Linked DNA regions of Homo sapiens: region 1 is linked to region 2. Evidence: promoter capture Hi-C in 16 types of primary human blood cells and fetal thymus (Javierre and others, 2016). All regions are on one chromosome and are shown on one strand. Each heading gives the region's core, a stretch centred on a gene start or on the middle of the fragment in contact. The rest is flanking DNA. Distances are from core to core; before and after follow the strand shown.

The links. Contacts are between HindIII fragments. The CHiCAGO score rates a contact against its expected background, and 5 or more counts as called.
Region 1: a fragment that was not itself captured here is called in contact with the fragment with the promoter of IL4 in region 2 in 1 of 17 cell types (endothelial precursors); the score reaches 5.9 in endothelial precursors.

What each region holds. Positions count from the first base shown.
Region 1 is chr5:132,385,178-132,389,236 of GRCh38, reverse strand. SLC22A5 (solute carrier family 22 member 5) reads right to left here. Exons shown (of 10, transcript NM_003060.4): 4 at 3,738-3,909; 5 at 2,086-2,212; 6 at 216-316. Among named protein-coding and RNA genes, the nearest start is that of MIR3936HG, 17 kb to the right of the region's middle. RefSeq lists enhancers at 2,397-2,606, 2,747-2,796, 3,290-3,619. The HindIII fragment of the contact is 2,434 bases long and covers 180-2,613 here.
Region 2 is chr5:132,672,658-132,676,769 of GRCh38, reverse strand. It overlaps IL4 (interleukin 4), which reads right to left and starts at 2,781. Exons shown (of 4, transcript NM_000589.4): 1 at 2,585-2,781; 2 at 2,264-2,311. The coding sequence starts at 2,719. The HindIII fragment of the contact is 7,466 bases long and covers 2,058-4,112 here.

The DNA of each region.
Region 1 (4,059 bases), core at 147-2,646, 290 kb after region 2:
AGCCTCCACAATTGTTTTCATTCTCCTTTTCTGAGGTTCCATCCCATTAAGAATTGTGACATGCCCATTTTTTCCATCTAACACAAGACATATCCTTTTCACTCTCTGATGACATAGGCTTTGAATTTTGTCTGAGGCATGTCTGTAAACAAGAGGCCCAATGGCCACTTCAAGAAGCTTTGTCTGGAAGCCTCAGGCAGGTCTCTTTTACATACCACAGCATTATGGACATGATGGTGACCATCCGGATATTCCAGGTTCGAAGCAGATCCAGAATGTTGTGGGACTGCTGCTTCTTGGAACTTAGGTCTTGTAACTGCAGGAACAACATCATAAGTGTATGGGAAGAAGAGGTGGTCAGAGACTCAGAGCACACAATAACATACTTGAATCCCTGGCATCTTAGCTGTCTGCATCTCAGCGTCGGGGAGTGTTACGTTTCTAAGAACAGTAAGTATACTGACTGTGTTTTAGGCTGTGAAAACTTCCCTAGGCCTTGTCAGTAACAAATCAGAGTGAATGAAAATGAGGAAAAGTAAGTGACCAGTCCCTCAAGGGTACAGGAAGACAGAGGCCCAGGCTGACAGCTTCCTCACTGCACCCCCACATATTCCTGTCGGTGGCCACATTCCAAGGAGGCCTCTAAGTATTCCTCCCGAAGCCTGGCTCCCTGCCCTCTGGGTCAGAGAGAGTACCTGGCTGTGTGGTTTATTGGTCTGATATTTTTTAAAAGTTAATGTTTTGAGTCCTTATACTATGTAGTTACTGGTGTGCTTCCAGGGAAAAAGAATTCAAATAGAAAAACAGGAAAATTGACCTGAGCTTCACCCAGAGTGACTTCCTATGAAATTCAGCACAGCCAAGGCCATTAATAAACCACACGTCTAAACACACTGATGTTGCTTTCTTAAGCAAACCCAGGTTTGGAGCTTGTTTTTCCAGAGTTAGAAGTTCAACAAAAGGTCAACTTTGGACTGAAAGTATCCCCTGAAATAGCCTCATTTCCTCAAAGATGCCAGTGGGGCTTATGCATTCACCCAGATTGACCCCTCACTTAAAAGCCCCCAAAACCACCTAACTTAAAAGCCCTCTGCCACACTCCTGCCTGACCTTTGCGCACAGGACCCCTTTCTGGTGCATGCTGACAGTGGCTGCTGGGCCACCACTCACTGGGAAGTCTGCAGGGCTGGCAGTGGCCATTGGCCTCCGCTGTCTACAATAACTGTTCCCTCTTTTCCAAGCCCAACCATGCCTGCCTCTCACACTTCAGCAGGGCTGCTTGTGGCTGTTCCCACACCCAACCCCTCATCTTCCAGTCAGACCACAGACACATTCCAGAACCCCACCAGGCAGCATTTACAGCTTCTAACCTCTCATAGTCACGAGACCAAGGAAAACTGCCTGCTACAGAGATGGTAGGAGAGGGAACGGGAAGGAAAAGCAAGAACCAGGAACTAGGTAGAGCCAAGAAATGAGTCATGGTGTGTGAGAACAGGGCTGACGGGAGGGGTGGGGTAGGGGGAAGAGGTGGACATCAAAAAGGACCTGACTCCAAGATGATATGCAATAATTAACCATTGGAGGGCAGAAAGAGACTAAACACTTTTTTTTTCTTTTTAATGAATAATTGCTAATACTCAAGAGATGAAATACTTCTAACTCCAAATCTATTTGTGCTTTACATTTTACGTTTGGGGTTAGCTTTGTAAGGTGACAAGCCACCTTAGGTATAAGAAACAATGATTTTCCCAAATGCTGACTTTATGAAAGGCCTATTACTCAAAAAGAGTATTTATTGTTAGAAGTAATGGTTAAAATATATGATTGCCTAGAAAGGAAGTAAAAAATGAAAATCTGAAACCCGTGGTGAAAAGAGTGAGGCAGCTGTAACCTATTCCTCAACTTCTGAGTGTTAACAGGGCCCGTGTGGGGGTGGGGAGTGGGGGGATGGGGGGAATGGGCAGTTGGGGCTTGGGCGGAGAGAGGGCTGGGCTGCTGTGAGCAGGGAGGACTTCAGGGCTGGGTGCTGCTGCTCTCAAATCACGGTCAGTCTGTCCCTCTCACCCACACCCACATGGTGCTTACCTCACTCGGGTCAAAGATAGTGGAAGGCACAACAATCCCATTGGCTTTGGCAGCCTTGCGGATGATCACCTCTGCCTCTTCAAATCGTCCCTGAGAGATGAGCCATCGGGGGGACTCAGGGATGAACCTGGCAGTACAAGGTCCAATCTCAGTGAGGCCTCCCTGCCAACAGCAGACCCACAGACCAGGTAGAGCACAGCCATAGGTGGGAATAAGGTTGCAGAACCAGAGCTTGTGGAATGTTTGGTGATCACAAGCCAGAAGCAAAGAGCTGATCCACACGCAGCAATAACCTGGGGTGGATGAGCTTATGTGTACCCCACACCGCACAAAAATGGGAGAGCCCTGCACCCCCTGACGGCATCCCCATGCTGGCTGGCCACCTCCATTTCTGAAGAGCAGTGTTGCCATCTGCTGGGCTGAGGAGATGGGTGCAAGATGGGCTCCGGAAGCCTGGCTTCTGTGCATGTCTATGTCAGCCCAGGCCCTGCTACACTCTCCTCCCTGTCCCCGGCACCAACAGAAGCTTCTGCACTGGCCTTTTAGCTTCTCTTCTCTCCTCACCCTACCCCTGATTTATCCAACAGATTAGTCAGATACTCTACCTAAAATAGCATGTTTGGCCAGGTGCAGTGGTTCACTCCTATAATCCCAGCACTTTAGGAGGCCAAGGCCGGTGGATCATTTGAGGCTAGGAGTTCCAGACCAGCCTGGCCAACGCAGTGAAACCCGTCTCTCCAAAGAAATACAAAAAAAATTAGCCAAGTGTGGTGGCAGGCACCTGTAGTCCCAGCTACTCGGGAGGCTGAGACATGAGAATCGCTTGAACTGGGGAGGCGGAGGTTGCAGTAAGTGGAAATCACGCCACTGCACTACAGCCTGGGCAACAGAGACTTTGTCTGAGAAAAAAAAAAGAAAAAAAAAGAAAAGAAAAAGAAAAGAAAAAAAGGAAAAAAATTAGCATGTTTATCAAGGCACTTGAGTGCTCTATGGATATTATTTTCCACCTTGCTGGGACCAGGTAGCCGCCCCCCACCCTCGGTCATGACTGGGCCCCATGATGTGCGGCTTACTCTCCCACTATGCCCTGAAATGCTCTCTGCTCCACTTGGGCTGGTGATCTCACCTTCTCCACCTGCAAGGGGTGATTCCCACCTTAGCACCTCTGCAGTGTTCCCCTCTTGGTCTGGAATGGCCTCTTCTCTGCCTGTTCAACTCCTCTACCTTGGTGGTGCAGAAGGAGCCTGGCTTCCTCCATGTGGCTACCCTGAGGACTCTTGCTTTTGGTGCCAGTGCCTGTGGCATGAGGCTTCAGCAGCACACAGCCAGAACTAGGGCCTACACTGTCCTGCCCTGAGGCTTGGGAACTTCCTACAGGGCATGCTGGACCCCATCTTCTCACAGCTACTGCTATTTTTCCCCACACTTGGGGCAACCCAGCACAGGGCTGAGAGCAAGTCTGTTGCTGTCATGGGATTCTGTTTTGTTTTGGCTCTTTTGAGTGTGGAGAAAACATTCTGAAATAATTTATAATCTATGCTTCCTGTCTCTGGGAGACAAAATAGGGATTCATGGGTTGTTGCTGCCCTCTAGTGAAGGCCAGACAGAAATCATCCTGCCAGTGGGCACATGGGGCACAAGGTCACACTCACCACCAGAGTGCCACGCATAGCACCCCCGGCATCGTCAGCGCCACCAGCAGCATCCGCCAGTCTCGGATGAAGTAAGCAAACAGTGGCAGCACCATGTAGCCAAATGCATAAAATATGCACACTCCTAACGTAGAGAATATTATACGAACTGACTTGCCAAGAATTTCTGTCCCTGTTCAAAACAAGGGAGGTCGAGTTAGCAGTTTAATTTGGGTTCCTTCCTTATTAATTTTTTATGGTATCTTTGTGAATACACAGACAAGAAAACAGCGAGAACTCTCTCTAAGTTCATGGCGCTAGGGAGCGGATGGCGTTCTGAACC
Region 2 (4,112 bases), core at 1,532-4,031:
AAAGAAGTACCTTTTCCTCTGCATACCACCTTTGTAGGTTTTTGAAAATAGCAACATTTCACTGTTCTGAAATATCTTAACATGTAAGTAAGCAGTGCTGAATCTTCGAGGGGAAGAAAAGAGTGAAGAGTGAGATCGTGAACTCCAGGAGGATGAAGTTCAGGGGAGGCAAATGAGACGGGTAAGAGTGAAGGCAGGCAGTGGGGATTATTCTAGGAGATGTTTGTGTGTGTGAGAGGGAGGTGAGTGAGGACTGAGTGAAGAGGGGAGTTAAGGACGGGAGGGCAGCAGTGTCCTGGCCTGCACCCGGGGGTCTTCCAGAAACAGCCCAGATGGATTGCCCCAGACTCGGCATCCTGGATGGTTTGATCCTTTCCAACCCGGTCCCCTCCTTCTTAGAATCATCGCTTCTCTGCACCTGTTCTTGCTTTTAATCGTGGTTATATCATCTCACAATAACACTTTGCACTAACTCAAGAGCTGGATTCCAATCAACCTTGCAATCACCTTCAGAATCACTTTCATATCTTCACATGTGGAAACTGAGGTGCAGAGAGGTGTGAAGATGTGCTGAAGGCCAGCCACACAGCTAGTCAGTGGCAGAGCTGGGTCTAAAACCACAGGCAGTCTTACCTCCAGGCCCTCAGCCCTCACCCTTCCTCCAGGCCTGGCTTCTAGTGAGGTGGCCCTTCCCTTGGCTTTGTTAGAGCCTTCTCAGCAGTGCCACAGGCCTCCAGAGACCCAGTGCTCAACCCGGTGGACTCTTGGCTTCTAGTAGGAGCCATCTCGGTTGGATGGACTTGGAGATTTTATACACACACACACACACACACACACACATATACATACACATATATACATACACACATATATATACACACACACATATATACACACACACACACACACACACACACACATAAACTGTTGCCCAGGTGCAGTGGCTAATCCCAGCACTTTGAGAGGCCGAGGTGGACGGATTGCTTGAGCCCAGAAGTTCGAGACAAGCCTGGGCAAAATGGCAAGACTCCATCTCTACAAAAAAATACAAAAATTAGCCAGGCGTGGTGGTGCACACCTGTCGTCCCGGCTACTTGGGAGGCTGAGGTAGGAAGATAGCTTGAGCCTGGGAGGTGGAGGCTGCTATGAGCTGAAATCGCACCACTGCACTCCAGCCTGGGTGACAGAACAAGACCCTATCTCAAAAAAAAAAAAAAGTGTGTATTTGCCCTTCAGAATCTCATCCTGTATCGGACTCCCGGGATAACTAATGAAATGAGATAGTCCAGCTAAAGGCCCGAAGAGCAGTTTCCCTCATGAAGCAGGATGGGCCCTGTTCTATGGTCTGGGTGCTGGAGTGTGACCCTGCCCAACACACAGGGCTTCACTCCTGGCCATATCATCTCCCTAGTTTGCATGGAAAGCAGGTAGTTAGGAGACCACTGTGAAATTGAGGCTTTGGGGCTTTCATTCTCAGCCGTGTGTTTCCATGAAAACAGGAACTGAAATGCACAAAACTATTGATACGGCTGTAGTCATGTGTTTGTCAGAGAAAATGCACTATCAGCTGTCAAATCTATCTCCTCCCACTACAGATAGAGGGGTGGGGGTGAGGCAGCACAGGAGGCAGAGAGGCGAGGTGCCCAGGCAGCCCGAAGCAGGGATGTGCTGGACGCTGCCCAGCAGGATGGTTCCAGACCGAGCTGGAGGGGAGTTCGGCCGGCCAGAGCAAGCTGAGGAGCTCTGGACGGCCAGCCCCGGAACCCAGAGGGCTGTTAGGTGGCCAGGCTGTGGAAGAGGAGGGGCTCTGGCGATACCTTTTCTGTTGCCATAGGAAGTCTCTTAGACAAAATGAAAGCTCCCTCAACCTGTCATCTCAATATCTGTTTCTGTGAGAGTATTTGGTTTTTCAGAAATGTATGGGCCAGAAAAATTCTCTCATTCAACAGGCATTTATTGAGTGCCTCCTACGTTCCAGGCACTATGCCAAAGCTAAGTAAAACCCAAGAGGGCTTTTCTTTGACCAGGATCTGAGTCAGGACTACAGCATGTAAGCTTTCTATTACATGTCTTCTAAATCAAGTGAAACCAGAAAGACCAAAACATGCTTAAGAGTAAAGATCAGACTTCTCGTTCTTTGAAAACATCTAACACCTTAGAGTTAATTTGGGCCCGCTCGTTTTCCATTAGACAAGTTTCTTGTTCAGACATTTGGGGATGGATCTCCCCATTTGCTAAAACAGACCGTGGGACGGCTTCTTACCTTGGAGGCAGCAAAGATGTCTGTTACGGTCAACTCGGTGCACAGAGTCTTGGTCCAGGCAGAAATGAGAGAGCAAGAGACAGAGTTAACCTCCAACCGGACAGAGAAGTCCTTGATGAGCAGCTCTCACTCCCTCCAACTGAGGAAACTTCCTACAAACCCTCAGAAAAAAGAGTGGCAGGGGAGAAGCCTCGCTGTGTGCCCTGGACTGCCACCAACCACCAGTTCCAACTTCTCTAGCAGCTGTTAACGTTTTCATGCCTAGAAATACTGAGAGCATCACCAGAACATCTGGAGAGATGGTGCCAGATAGGTACTCACCTTCTGCTCTGTGAGGCTGTTCAAAGTTTTGATGATCTCCTGTAAGGTGATATCGCACTTGTGTCCGTGGACAAAGTTGCCGGCACATGCTAGCAGGAAGAACAGAGGGGGAAGCAGTTGGGAGGTGAGACCCATTAATAGGTGTCGATTTGCAGTGACAATGTGAGGCAATTAGTTTATCAGGAGAAGCTAACGATGCAATGCTGACAAAGATATCTCTATATATAGATTTAAAATTGCTGAAACCGAGGGAAAATGAGTTTACATTGGAAATTTTCGTTACACCAGATTGTCAGTCACTTGGGGCCAATCAGCACCTCTCTTCCAGGAGAAAAAATGCCTCACAAACAGGTAAAATGTTCCTGTGAAATCAGACCAATAGGAAAATGAAACCTTTTTAAAAAATTAACTACAAAGTTTCAGCATAGGAAATTACACCATAATTTGCTCTTTAGATTAATCTTATCAGCTTGGGGCTGCTGCTGGCTTTTTGCTTTGCATAGAAGGGAGAGGCCACAGGTGTCCGAATTTGTTGTAATGCAGTCCTCCTGGGGAAAGATAGAGTAATATCAAGAAAGTTTTACTTGAAAAGTATTTTAACCTGGCTTCTTCCAAGTACAGGTGGCATCTTGGAAACTGTCCTGTCATGGAAAAGCTGATCTGGGGCTCCTTCTCTGCATAGAGGCAGAATAACAGGCAGACTCTCCTACCCCAGCACTGGGGGACAATGTTCTCCCAAGTTTAGGTGTTTTGAGAAGGACAGGTCGTATCAGGTGAGGCCTAGTTTGGGTCCCAGCAGGTCCATAAGGTCCTTACCCATAAGGAAGCCCTTGGCAAGGTAGGTCTATTCTGAGGTTTCAGGAATGACTTTTTTTTTTTTTTTTCTGAGACAGGGTCTCACTCTGTCACCCAGGCTGAAATGCAATGTTGTGATCAGGGATCACTGCAGCCTCAACCTCCCAGGCTCAAGTGATCCTCCCACCTCAGCCCCCCTAGCAGTAGGTGCGTGCCACCGCACCATGCCTGGCTCATTTTTATTTTTATTTTTTGATAGAGATAAGAGTCTCACTATGTTGCCTAGGCTCATCTCAAATTCCTGGGCTCAAGTGATCCTCCTACCTCAGTCTCCCAAAGCTCTGAGATTACAGGTGTGAGCCACCATGCCTGGCCAGGAATGCCCACTTTTTGAATGGAACCTAAACACATCCTCAGCTAATTAGGAAAAAGAGCTACAGTCTTACCAACTTACAAATCAGCCCTCCTAGTCAGTGCCCCACCACCCGCCCTGCTTGTTTTTTATTGAATTCATGTGGACACAATAAGGTGCTCATTGCCTCACCCCAGCAGTGAACGTAAGGACCCCACCACTCACTCAGGTGCCTGGGCCCTGTGCAAGGCCACCCCACCTCCCAGTAAGGGCTCATGGGCAGCAGGATTCTTGGGCCCTGCCTGCCCCCTGCTTTTCTCCCAGAACCTTCCCTTCCCTTGGTCTCTGACCTTCTTTTCCCTATGAATTTCTTTTTTTTTT